Linked DNA regions of Homo sapiens: region 2 is linked to region 1. The links are contacts of gene promoters, found by promoter capture Hi-C in human tissues and cell types (Jung and others, 2019). All regions are on one chromosome and are shown on one strand. Each heading gives the region's core, a stretch centred on a gene start or on the middle of the fragment in contact. The rest is flanking DNA. Distances are from core to core; before and after follow the strand shown. Region 1 holds the start of SAA2 (serum amyloid A2). Region 2 has its middle 18 kb from the start of MRGPRX3.

What was found. The method cuts DNA at HindIII sites, captures the fragments that hold promoters and counts their contacts. A contact is called where the count stands out against the background at its distance.
Region 2: a fragment that was not itself captured here is called in contact with the fragment with the promoter of SAA2 in region 1 in 3 of the 25 tissues and cell types used here (H1 embryonic stem cells, bladder and liver).

What each region holds. Positions count from the first base shown.
Region 1 is chr11:18,246,122-18,252,926 of GRCh38, forward strand. It overlaps SAA2 (serum amyloid A2), which reads right to left and starts at 2,547. Exons shown (of 4, transcript NM_030754.5): 1 at 2,482-2,547; 2 at 1,800-1,894. The coding sequence starts at 1,890. SAA2-SAA4 (SAA2-SAA4 readthrough) reads right to left here and starts at 2,547. Exons shown (of 6, transcript NM_001199744.2): 1 at 2,482-2,547; 2 at 1,800-1,894. The coding sequence starts at 1,890. It also overlaps the pseudogene RNA5SP333. The HindIII fragment of the contact is 6,944 bases long and covers 932-6,805 here.
Region 2 is chr11:18,147,075-18,153,879 of GRCh38, forward strand. It overlaps the pseudogene MRGPRX12P. Among named protein-coding and RNA genes, the nearest start is that of MRGPRX3, 18 kb to the left of the region's middle. The HindIII fragment of the contact is 6,709 bases long and covers 890-6,805 here.

The DNA of each region.
Region 1 (6,805 bases), core at 1,297-3,796:
AAAGAAGGACAAATCTTCCACTGACTTCAAGCTTTCAGCCTGTGATCATAGCAGCCTTGGATACCATGGGTTGAGAAGCACATTCCTTTATCCTAGTTGGCTTCTTCAAGTGCCCTGGTGAAGAGCCACTGCTATAGAATGAAGCTGCCTATGATAAGATCCAGGAGTGTATATGAATGAGGTGGTGACATGGAATACTGATGCTGAGAAAGGTGGCAGACACAGAGTACTTCTGCCCTGACTACTAAAGTATATATTCTTGCAAATGGAATACATGTCATTGTGACCTGAGTTCCAGTGACTGTTAGGAGCATAAAAGTCCCTAAACACTTTCTCAGTAGGCTGTACTGATACTGTGGGTTGCTTGAGGAAGCAATAGAGCAGCGGTTCTCCGCCGTGGTTGCACTTTCTTTTTCTTTTTTATTTTTTTAGACGGAGTCTCACTCTGTCACCCAGGCTGGAGCACACTGGAGCAATGTAACTCACTACAACTTCCGCTTCCCGGGTTCAAGTGATTTTCCTGCTTCAGCCTCCTGAGTAGCTGGGATTACAGGTGCCTGCCACCACGCCTGGCTACATTTTCATATTTTTAGTAGACACAGGGTTTCACCATGTTGGCCAGGCTGCTCCGGAACTCATGACCTCAAGTGATTCATCCACCTTGGCCTCCCAAAGTGCTGGAATTACAGGCGTGAGCCTTGGCTGCACTTTCTAATCACCCAGAGAGAAACTGAAAGTCCCAGTGCCCAGGCCACACCCCAGGCCAGTTTCTGCAGACTCTGCTGGGGAGTTGAAGGCATGGGTAGTTCAGGTGATGCCAAGGTGTGTCTGAGATTCATAACCATCAACCTCTGGGAGGTGGTCAGTGATGCGTCTACCTGGCAAGAGCCCTGACCTCAAGCACAGCCGGGCTCAAACCTCTGCCCTGCCACCTGCTGACTGGCAGTAAGTCCCTGGGCATTGGCCTCAGCTGCTCTAAGTCTCAGCTTTCTCACCTTCACAGAAGGGATGCCTGCCTCACAGAGTCATTCTGAAACTAGATGAGAAAATGCTGTGGTCCTTGTGGGGGCTTGAGGCACGTTAGTTCCCAGCTCTTGTCAAGAAGGCTGGAGAAGGAAGAATGGAAACAGAACAAACCAGGAAGGGAGCCCCTGACAGAGCGAGGCTAAAGAGCCCTGTACATTATCCAACTAGGAAATCGAAGGAGGAAGGAGAAAGAAGACAGAAGAGTCAACAGCCTTAGTCATACTCCTATGCGATTTATGCTGAGGGACATTTTATACCAATTGCAGGCCTTATTTTGCATCTTCTACTCAAAACAAACAGCTCAGGTGCTCCTGGAAAGGATGATTGTTCTTTCTCTGAGTAACTGACAACAATCCTCGACTCTCTAATCTGTTTAGCAGCTCCCCAGGCACATTGGGCAGCACAACCTAAGGCAGCGGCTCAAATCTTAAGGAAGCCCAAAAATACCCCGTGTGCGTTGTTACTGGATGCCCCGTCCCTTACGGCTCAGGAGATGTGTTTTTGATACACCTTGCAGCGGCTTCTGAAATGTGATCCATCCACTTAACACATCCTGAGAAGCTGCACTACGGGGAAAGGGGATATTCCCAGCAGCTCTGAAAGACTCGAGACAGGCAACCCAGCAAACCCTAGTTCCTGGCAGGCCTCAGCAACGCAGACACTAGCAACTCTGTGGTTCAAAAGCAGCCTTCCGAAAGCATCATTTTCCCCAGTTTATCAGGTCCAGGGCGATGTTTCTCTTCAGAAATCCTGCAAACCTTCTGAAGCCTTACCATCAAAAGCCTCGCCAAGGAACGAAAAGAAGCTTCGGCTGCTGACACTCAGGACCAAGGAGCAGAAAACCAGGCCCGTGAGAAGCTTCATGGTGCTGAAATGAAAGGAGAAGTCAGGCAGTCGCCCACAAGACTGGCACAGCTTCCCTTGGGACTTATATTCCGACGAGAGCCTGGTTATTTCCACTGGATCTTATTAGAGTCTCAGTGGCTCATCTAGGAAACCTTGCAGCAGGACCTCACTCAGAGCCAGAAGCCCTCGGTTCTGAACCCATCAGCCCTGAAGCCTGACTGCATAAGAGGATGCCAATGTGGCACTGATGGAGGAAGGCAGGAGTTACCACCAGACTGTCACTCCCTCAAGTAGCCTATAATTCCCCATAACGCATTTACCGTGTGTTCCCTCTGCCCCGCACAGAACTCAACATGGGATAAACACAAAGCAGGATCATTATTTTTTATTCTTAAAGCCTTTAGCACCTGGTATTCCCAGGTGTTCTCCCATCCAAGTACTACCAGGCCCGACCCTGCTTACCTCTCTAGATCAGAGGAGATAAGACACCTTCAGAATGGTATGGCTGTATGCCCCAGGATAACTATTTTTTTTAAAGGAAATGATAATCTTGTTGGGAAAGAGAAAACAGAGTAAGTTTTAAAAATCACTCCTTGGTGTGCTCCTCACCTGATCTGTGCTGTAGCTGAGCTGCGGGTCCCTGTCTGCCAGGGAGAGGTGGCTGCTATTTATAGTGAGCCTTGCTGGTCTCTTGGGAGGGAAGAAAAGCTGGATGTGGTCCCTGGGGAAAGTCCCTGCAGGTCATTTCCCCTACAAACTGGTCTAAGACAAGTTCCTGGATGCCGGTGGTTTCTTCATCCCGGGTCATTTATCCCAGTTGTGTAACCTATGGGAACAAGAGAGGTTTGCTGTGCCTTGGCAATGGACAGGGTGCTAGATCAGCTCTGCTCCTCAGCATTGGGGGAAGTGCAGCTGCAGAGATGCCAGTGGGAGCCCCGTGATGGCGGCACCTGGGCTGCTGGAAGGTGTGGAGTGAGGGCAGCTCTTCAGCCAGCTCCTGACTATACCGGTCATTTCCTCAGGATGGGCCCTGCTGGGCCACATGGCAGATGACCCTGACTGAAATCCCTGTGAGTTCATGTCTAAAGCTTTAAGCTTTAAAACGGACAGCCTACCCCTGCCACATCTCATGTGTGCCCTGGAAGCCTCCTTCCACCCCTCTGGATGTCCTGATATTTCTCAGCACAGAAAATCTCTGCTCCGCTGGCTTAGCCAATTTGGAAATGCTTTTTCTAAGTTGGCTCCTGAGCCAAGGACAATGTAGAGAGGGGGACTTTCTGCTGCCCCAGCCTAGTCCTGGAGCCCCACCTTGGGAGAATGAGAGTGTGGTGCGTTAAATAGGCAGCCCAGCTGGGGACGTGCCCAGCATCCAGGCAGGGAAGGGTGGGAGAGCTCTTGGTCTGCTGTATTATCACGGAGGGGTGCAGGGGGCATGCAGATCACTCTCTCATGAGAACATCAACAGGGTCAGATTAGCTCTGCAGAGGCTTATGGAGGAGCATGGTGGCCAGAGATGGGTCAGTACCAGAGCCCAGGGGGGCTGAGGCCAGGACATGCAGAGAGGCTGGTGGACATAGCAGCAACTCTGGTTTCTTCTTCTCCAGTCCATGTTCATACCCTGAGGGCTAGGCATTTGTAATAACAAACAAACAAGCAATTTAGAAATGGGCCAGGCATGGTGGCATGTGCCTATAGTCCCAGCTACTTGGGAGGCCAAGGCAGGAGGCCTGCTTGAACCCAGAAATTTGAGGCCAGCCTGGGCAACACAGCAAGATTATCTTAAAAAATTTTTTTTAATCTCTGAGAAATGGGTAGGGCCAGGAAGTAAAGGATGGCCAAATACTCCATAAGCAGCAAATGCGTGGCTCCAATGTGAACAATGATATTATAGACTCTGTTCTGAGACCTATGCATTGACACCTCCACCTCCCCCACTACATCTTGCCACCTTAAAACCACTGAGAGTGGTACCTGCTGGAATGGGTCCACACACACAGTCACACATATTTTAGGCAGGGTAGTTGACATCCCCAGGGAAAAAGAGCTCACAGAGAGAGGCTGAATGTTTCCAACTGGGTAGCAGTAATAGTACATCATGCTGTACATGGTACAGCACAGATCAGGTGAAAATAATAGCACATCGTGATTAACCAGGGCTTATTCCAGGGAGTCAAGAAGAGTTTCATATCAGAAAAATCTATCTTTGTAATTCACTATACCAGTAATCAAAGAAAAGGATTGTACATTTATTTTACTAGATGCAGAAAATGAATTTCATAATTGTCAACATCTACTGATGATAAGGAAAATGTATAACAAAATAAAGAGACCATTTCTGACTTGAGAAAGGATAAATACCAATATGTTATAGCAACAGTTCTCAAACTGTTTTCCAGGGAACCCTAAGAATCCCTCCTTAGGGAGGCTTTGATCTCAAAATTATTTTTAGAATAGTGCTAACACACTATTTTCATGTTTCAGTCTCATTTTCTCATGAGTACACACAATATGACAAGTTAGTTGATATGAGTGTGGATTTCCACATGGTAACTGACTTTTCAGAAGCTACCACTTGTTGAGTTTGGTATAATATAGAATAGCCACAATTATCTAAAAATACCATTAAAATACACTCCCCCATTTCAACTATATATCTGTGTGAGGCTGAATTTTCTTCATATACTCCAACCTAAATAACATATTAAAACAGGTTGGATGATGAATCAGATAGGAAAATCCAGCTATGAAAAAAAAATCAGACATGAAAAATTTTCAAAAGGGTAAAACCATAGTACTCTTCTTACTTTTTTTCTTTTGGAAGATGGTTATTTTTCATAAAAATATATTATTTATGTTAACATATAGAAGATGGATAATTTTTTGAAGAATTGATAAATGTTTAAATTTTTTCTTTCTATTATGGTAAATACTGATGAATAGAGTCCCCATAAATAAAAGTTCTTTGGGGTATTCAATAATTTTTAATAGTGTAATGGGATCCTGAGACCAAAAGGTTTGAGAATCATTGCTCTACAGCAAACATTATGTGTAATTAAGACACTTCAGGTGCATTCTCAAGAAGACCAATAAAGAGGCCACAATGGCAGGCGTGGTGGCTCACACTTGTAATCCAAGAACTTAGAGAGGACGAGGCAGGTGGATCACTGGAGGTCAGGAATTCTCAACCAGCCTGGCCAACATGGTGAAACCCTGTCTCTACTAAAAGTACAAAAATTAGTCGGGTGTAGTGGCAGGTACCTGTAATCCCAAGTACTTGGGGGGTTGAGGCAGGAGAATCACTTGAAGCCGGGAGGTGGAGGCTGCAGTGAGCCGAGATCGTGCCACTGCACTCCAGCCTGGGCAACGGAGTGAGACTTCATCATGGAAAAAAAAACAAAGAGGCCAGGATGTCTGGTTGTTACTGCCACTGTTTCACATATCCCTGAAGGACCTGCCCAATGCTAAAGAAACACAAGGAAGGTAAGAGGTGAAAGAGAAGAAATGAAACTATCATTGTTTGAAGATGACACCATCTTTTACATAGAAAACCTGTTAGAATCAAATGGCAAGCTATTAGAACTACTAAGAGAATTCAGTGAGGCTGCTGTATTCATGGCAAAATTTTAACAATTGATAGCATTTCTCTGCAACATTCCTTAATAGTTATAAAATACAGCACAAAGTAGTACCAAAAATATTAACTATCTAGGAAATAACCTCTTACAGAGAAAATTTAGTCTGTTAAAGGATAAACAGTGGCAATGTACGTCATGTCCACAGAGATTATATTTTAGCTTAGCAAAGATACCAATTCTCCCAAATTTATTTATAAATTAAATGCAATGTGAATCAAAATTTCCCACTGGAATTTTTATCAGGAAGGCAACAAATTCTTTCTTTCTTTCTTTCTTTCTTTCTTTATTTATTTATTTATTTATTTATTTATTTATTTCCTTCCTTCCTTCCTTCCTTCCTTCCTTCCTTTCTTTCTTTCTTTCTTTCTTTCTTTCTTTCTTTCTCTCTCTCTTTCTCTCTCCCCCCCTCTCTCTCTCTCTGTCTCTCTCTCTCTCTCTTTCTTTCTTTCTTTCTTTCTTTCTTTTTAAGACAAAGTCTGGCTCTGTCACCCAGGCTGCAGTGCAGTGATACAATCTCAGCTCACTGAAACCTCAACCTCTCCGGCATCAGGTGAACCTCCCACCTCAGCCCCCCGAGTAGCTGGGACTACAGGTGCACACCACTGGGCCTAGATAACTTTTTGTATTTATTGTAAATAAACACAAAAAATAAATATTTTGCTCAGGTTGGTCTGGAACTCCTGGGCTCAAGCAATCCGCCTGCCTTGGCCTCCCAAAGTGCTAGAATTACAGTTGTGAGCCACCACACCCAGCCAATAAATTAATTCTTTATGATGAATAAGTTATCTATGAAAATTAAGTCAGCTGGGTGCGGTGGCTCACGCCTGTAATCCCAGCACTTTGCCGGGCTGAAGCAGGTGGATCACCTGAGGTTGGGAGTTCAAGACCAGCCGGACCAACATAGAGAAAACCCGTCTCTACTAAAAATGCAAAATTAGCTGGGTGTGGTGGCATATGCCTGTAATCCCAGATACTTAGGAGGCTGAGGCAGGAGAATTGCTTGAACCCGGGCGGTGGAGGTTGCGGTGAGCCAAGATTGCACCATTGCACTCCAGCCTGGGCCACAAGAGCGAAACTCCATCTCAAAAAAAAAAAAAGAGAAGTTAAGTCAATGAAAAGTTAAGTCAATTAAAAAAGTAAGAGCTGTAGTGTTTAGATATATACACACACACATATATATATATTTATCTTTATATATGTATATATATCTTTTCCTTTTTTTGAGACCGAGTCTGTTTTTGTTGCCCAGGCTGGAATGCAGTGGCGCGATCTCTGCTTACTGCAACCTCTGCCTCCCA
Region 2 (6,805 bases), core at 2,994-5,493, 97 kb before region 1:
GCTCCACTCCCTGTGTCCATGTGTTCTCATTGTTCAGCTCCTACTTGAAGTCAGAACATGTGGTGTTTGGTTTTCTGTTCCTGCATTAGTTTGCTGAGGATAATGGCTGCCAGCTCCACCCATGTCCCTGCAAATGACATGATCTCATGCTGCAATGAACATATGTGTGCATGTATCTTTGTAATAGAATGATTTATATTTCTTTGGGTATATACCCAGTAATGGGATTGTTGGGTCAAATGTTATTTCTTGTTCTAGATCTTTGAGGAATTGCCACACTGTCTTCCATAATGGTTGAACTAATTCACTTTCCCATCAACAGTGTAAAAGCATTTCTTTACTTTTTAAAAAAGAGAAACAAACACTAAAATAAGTGGTATCAGTCCATTATGAGACTTAGATGACTCTATGGTCTACATATTATTTTGTTTAAAGACTCACATCACAAGCTTACATTGCTTGACACTGATACCTAAGCTCACAGTTGGCAATTAAGTGCTCTAGAACAACAATTACTAACGAAGAGGTGGACCAGATGAAATGGGATGGGAGAGGCTGATATGTGAGTGAAAATGGGACAGAGGCCAAGAAACACCTCAACTAGGGATTCTGCCTCAAATGGCTGTGGTCTCCAATTTGCACCCATTCCCTGTAAAGGAAATCACAGAGCTGTCCAGCATCTTGATAAGCCTGGCTTGGTCACCAAATTTCCGTGCAGCTCCTAAAGGCATCTCTGAAATTGCAGGACACAGAAGGGTCCTCTGGAGTCACTAAATCCCAGAAAGGCTCTTCTACTTTAGCACAGGATGGCTGTCTACTTCTAGATAGAAGAAGGAGCAAATGTAAGGGTATATATCAAGAATTGTCTTCTTTCCAAAGTCAGTTATGGGTTTTTGCTATAAATTCACATTCCTGTGTTTTCTCCTTAGGGTGTGTATTAGTCGGTTCTCATACTACTAACAAAGACATACCTGAGACTGGGTAATACATAAAGAAAAAGTTTAATGGACTCATAGTTTCAGAGGCCTCACAATCATGAAGGAGGAGCAAAGGCACATCTTACATGGTGGCAGGCAGGACAGCATGTGCAGGAGAACGGCCCTTTATAAAACCATCAGATCTCGTGAGAGTTATTCACTATCACGAGAACAGCAGAGGGAAGACCCAACCCATGATTCAATACTTTCCACTGGGTCCCTCCCCTGACATGTGGGCGCTATGGGAACTACAATTCAAGATGAGATTTGGGTGGGGACACAGCCAAACCATATCAGGATGCTACATGCAGGGAGTCATTAGCTTGCTTGAGGAAAAGTCAGGAGGCATGAAGCTTCTTTCTTGAAACTGAGTGCTGGCAAACATGATTGTAGGAGTTCCAAATGGGGTCAAACAGACTTTTCTCCCTACTATCTATCTCTCCATGGCCTCTCCTCTATTTCAACCATTCAAATCTTCTGTCATGGAGAGAATGCTGCCTCTTACATTCATTATGGAGCAAAGAGACATGCAGGCATTGCTTCCCAGAGCTAAACTGCTCTAAACCCAGGTTTTACTTCATTCCTTGCTTTCAAAGTTATTCTGAAATAATAATAATAGTTATCCAGGAAGAAACAAATGGTCCAACATGAAATAATTGAGGAGTATTTTACGCCGGGATTACTTACAAAAAAAAATTCTGGCTTAAAGGAAAGTGACAATGCATGGCGATGCAACCTAAGGCAAGCAATAAACACTATTTCCTCCCCTAGGCTTACAGGGACAGGAAAAGAGCAGTTACCATTAAAAGCATAGCTGTAGCTGTAACTGTAAAGGTGGGAGAGGATGAGGCAGGTGGAGAACCCTGCATCACCATCACACAGCATCACAGGCAGAGAGCCAGAAATCCCAAAATTGCTGTCCTCCTGCCCTCCAGTCTCCTGCTAGTGTCTCCTAGTTGCTCAGTTGAACCAGAAACCAGAAGGAAAAGAATCTCATTTATGAGGTACATAGAAGCCACCATCTTGGAACGCCAAATAGGGTAGAAAAGAAGGGACAAAAAATCCTTAGGGAAAATGAGACTATCTCTCTGACCTTCTTATATCCTCCTACTTTCTGGGGTTTTTCTCAATCTAAATGTCATTGAATCATGTATCATCACAGCTCCATCTATTTTTTTTTTTTCTGTTTCCACCTTCTCTCTCTAGTGTCAATTTTATGGACAAACACCCACATTAATTAAAAATGACTAATTGGAAGATAATTTTTAAGAGAAAATATATTTCTTTTAGTTTGAGTATAAGCTTAGTTGTTCTAATAAAGATATCTTTATTAAATCAAAATATCTTAAACAAGAAAGTACAGTGGATTCTCCATATCCATAGTTTCCACATCCAGGGATTCACCCAATAGCAAATCAAAAATGGTCAGAAAAGGAAAATAAAAAAGGATAGTGACATCTGTACTGAATAGGTACAGACATTTTTATCCTTTCTTCCCTAAAAAATATAACAACTATTTATACAGCATTTAGATGGTCTTAGGTATTATTAGTAAAGTAGAAATCATTTAAAGTATATAGGAGAATGTGGGTAGGTTATATATAAATGCTATGCCATTTTCTATAAGGAAACTGAACATCTGGAGATTGTGGTGCATGCAGGGGTCCAAGAATGAATTGCCTGTAATGCCCAGGAATGAATGTATCTTAGATATAAGTTGGAGGCTTCAAGGCATCATACATTAAGACTCCAAAAACTGCTGCTTCCCAGTCCATAGAGTGGAGTCCTCATTCTTTGTGGTCTTACTGGTTCCCACCCACATCAGCATTCTAGCCTGATGGAAAAAGAAAGAGGGAAAGGGGAGCCTGTACTTCTTCCATTGATCCCACGAGCCCGGACTTCCTTACATCACATCTGCTCACCTTCCACTGACAAGAACCTGGTCTTATGATGTCATCCAGCATCAAGGAAAACTGGGACATGTGTCCTTGTGCTGCTCTTAAATGCTCAGAATTGTTATGTCACTGAAGAGGAGAATGGAGATTGGGGCAACTTGGCAGTCTCTGAAACCCTTGATTATCTCTGAGATTTTTTGCTCACATCAAGGTTTTTCAGGAGCTCCTCAGAAATAATGAATGATGGGGCAGAGAACAGTACATAAGTCTCATACAGGGATGTTGACATGGGGCCTGCTCTTTGTGATATTGGAAAAACAAGTCTGACTCTTGTAGCCTCAACTCCTTCTTATGTCAAATGAGAATAGTACAATAGATAGTCTTTAAGGAACACATGCTGTATTAGTCTGTTCTCACACTGCTATAAATATACTACCTGAGACTGAGTAAGTTACAAAGAAGAGAGATTTAATTGACTCACAGTTCCACATGATTTGGGAGGTCTCAGGAAAATTACAGTCATGAAGGAAGGTGAAAGGGAAGCAAGTCATGCCTTACATGGCAGCAGGAGAGAGAAAGAGAGAGAGAGAGAGAATGGGAAAGTGCCAGACACTGAAACAACCAGAACTCGTAAGAACTCACTTGCTATCATGGGAACAGCAAGGGGGAAATCCTGCCCCATGATCCAATCATGTCCAACCAGCTCCCTCCCTCCACACATGAGGATTACAACTCAAGATGAGATTGGGTAGGGACACAGAGCCAAACCATATCACATGCTAAATGTTGGTGATACTACAGTGAACAAAAACAGGCATGGCTTACTCCCTATGGAGCTTCAGGTTTAATGAGGAAGACAAATGTTTCAAATGTTAAATACGGTATATCAAATATATACCCTAAATATAGATGCACAAACTGTTAAGTGCCCTGAGTGGGGATCACAGTTTTCCTTCCATTTCCCTTTCTGGCCCAAGGCTGTGGCAGCTTGTTTCTCTAAGACAGCTCAGGATGGATGCACTCACTTTTGATATCTCTCTGTACACCTGAGGAAGGATGCATTTTGTTTCCACTTGGATGCTTTCTACGCCTGTGGCTCCTCAGGATTCCAGAGGAAAGCTTGACTTCATGAGGAAGGAAAGGGTCTCTGATTTCCTTATTGTGCTCCTAATTGGTTTCCCTTCACTCTCATTTGTTAGATATTAGGTTGGTTTCTTATTGTCTCCAGAGTTTGCTTACGTTACTTTTTTCAGTCCACAGTTTTGACTACCATCTTGGATTTATATTGGGAATTACAATGTCCTCTGCTTTCCCACACAGTGATGTGTAAGCAACACACAGTGGTGCTGGATCCAAAGGGTTGGCAAAAAAGATAAACTCTGAGGCAGCCCTGCTGGGTTCTAATCCACATCGTGTGAGACTAAGAAATAATTACACATCCTTTATGTCTTCCTTTGTCATCTCCTGTAAAATGGGAATATTACTAATTCTTCTTACTTCCTAGGCTCTTGAAAAGATTAAGAGGGATAATACCTAATAAATACTCAACTGGTTACTGTTATTCACCCAGATGGAAGCTAGTCCTCTTTCTTCAGTTAAAATCTGCATGAGCATGTCTCTTTACATTCCAAGCCCTGAAATTTTTCTGGTTCCCCTCAGGAACTCCTCTGAAACAAAAGTTTGCATTAGCAAAAGAAATTCTACCCAAGATCTGGGAGAGAGAATGAAGTAGGTTTGTGTTATGCACACCCAGCACACCACTTAGAAGTTCTCCAGGTCTATTTCCACATTTCAATTGCCTCCTTCAGTGACAATCAGACCTCACGCTCACTTACTTTTTCCTCCTGTATATTGCTGAGCAATTCAGCTCAGACCCACACCCTACCTCAACGCTGTATACCAAAATGCTTCTAGGTGCTCAGCAAAGCCAACACCGAGTCCTCATTTCAAAGTCACATCAGTGATCAGATATTTAGGCTCACATAGGTAATTCTTTTTAACACAGACAGAGCTGTCCACAAATAGAATTCTGATGAATGAAATTTTCTTCATCTTATGCATATATGTGTTCTGATACCTTTAATTGTGCTTTCATTTTTATTTTCTATTTAACTCAAATCTGCCACTACCATTAGGCTCCTCATTCATGCATTCACTCACTGAATAAATGTTTGTGGAGAATATAGTGTGCCTTACATGGAGCTAGGCACTGGGAATATAAAAAGTGGTGCTCCTTCCTGGGGATTAGCCCAAGCAGGTTCTTGGCTTTGTACAGAAAAGAATTCAAGGGTAAGCCAGTGGTGTTAGATAGCAAGTTTTATTAAAGCAGCAGAGGTACTGCTCCTTGCCAAGCAGGGCTACCCCACAAACAGTGTGTCCAGAGTAGCAGCTCAGGGGCAGTTCTGCAGTCATATTTATGCCCACTTTTAGTGATACACAAATTAAGGGGCAGTTTATGCAGAAATTTTTAGGATAAGAGTGGTAACTTCCAGGTCATGAGGTAGTTGCCATGGAAAAAAGTGATAATTTCTAGATGTCACCATGGCCATAGTAAACTGACATGGCACACTGGTGGGCATTCTTATGGAAAACTGCTTCCACCCAGCCCTGTTTTAGTTAGTCCTCAATCTGGTCCAATGTCAGAGTCCTCACCTCCAGAGTTGAGTCACACCTCCTACCTCAGTGGCATACTGGTGGCCATGTCCTGTGGAAAGCTGCTTTCACCCTGGCCTTGTTTTAGCTAGTCTTCAATTTGGTCTGATGTCTAAGTCCCTGGCTCCAGAATCAAGTCCCACCTCTTACCTCACTGTCTTCAGTGACTGACATGCTGAGCCCTTTCTAGCCTACCAGGCCCAGCCATCCTTACATCTGTCCCAGCAAAACGCTACATTCCTTTCATGTCCCTTAATCATGATCTTTTTCCTCCATGGATACACCACTGTTAGTCATGGAGGTGTCAGAGTCACCTTTTTGTCTTTCTGAATTCCTGCACCTGAGAAAATTTCTGGCCCAGTCCAGAGTAATGCTCAGGCCCATAGCCCTAGCTGGTTGAATGGAGAGGTTTTGATCAAAGAATATTTCCATGTGAGTAGAGAACCTTGTTGCAATAGAGAGAGCCCAGGCTTTAGTGTCAGCAAGAACTGGTTTGAAACCAGATCCAAGGCCTCCTGATATTTTAATTGGTTATTCTCCATATGCCCCAATTTTTCTCTTCTGAAAAATGGGAACAGTAATTCACACATTGCAGGGTGGTCTTGAGAATTAGAGATCACACAGCTGGAGCTCAAATCTCCTTGCCTTTCCCTAGGCACCAGTGAAGGGTTTTGGAGCGTGGATCCAACCATCCCAGTTTGGAGGACAAAACTCACATCAATGAATGGAAATGAAAAGAACCTTTCTTGAACTTGTGACTTGGAGACCCTGATCCCAAACTTACTGACGTGCATCATTGCCCTGGATGGGCTGGCAGGAAACGCGGTTGTGCTCTGGCTCCTGGGCTTCCATGTGCCCAAGAACACATTCTCTATCTACATGCTCAACCTGGCCAGACGGACTACCTCTTCCTCAGCGGCCACATTATACATTCCCCGATGTAATTCATCAGCACTTTCTCTTCCATCTCCATCTACTTTCCTAGCTTCTTCAATGCTGTGATGATCCTTTCCTACCTTGCAGGGCTGAGCATGCTAAGCACCATCAGCATCAAACACTGCATATCTGCCCTGTGGCCCATCTGGTACCACTGCCGTCGCCCCACACACCTGTCAGCAGTCCTGTGTGCCCTGCTCTGGGCCCCGTCCCTGCTGCTTGCCTTCCTGGAAGGTTACTACTGTGCTTTTCTGTTTAAGATTGGGGACTACAGTTGGTTTCAGACATTTGATTTCATCACAGGCACGTGGCTGATTTTTAAATTTGTGGTTCTCTGTGGGTCCA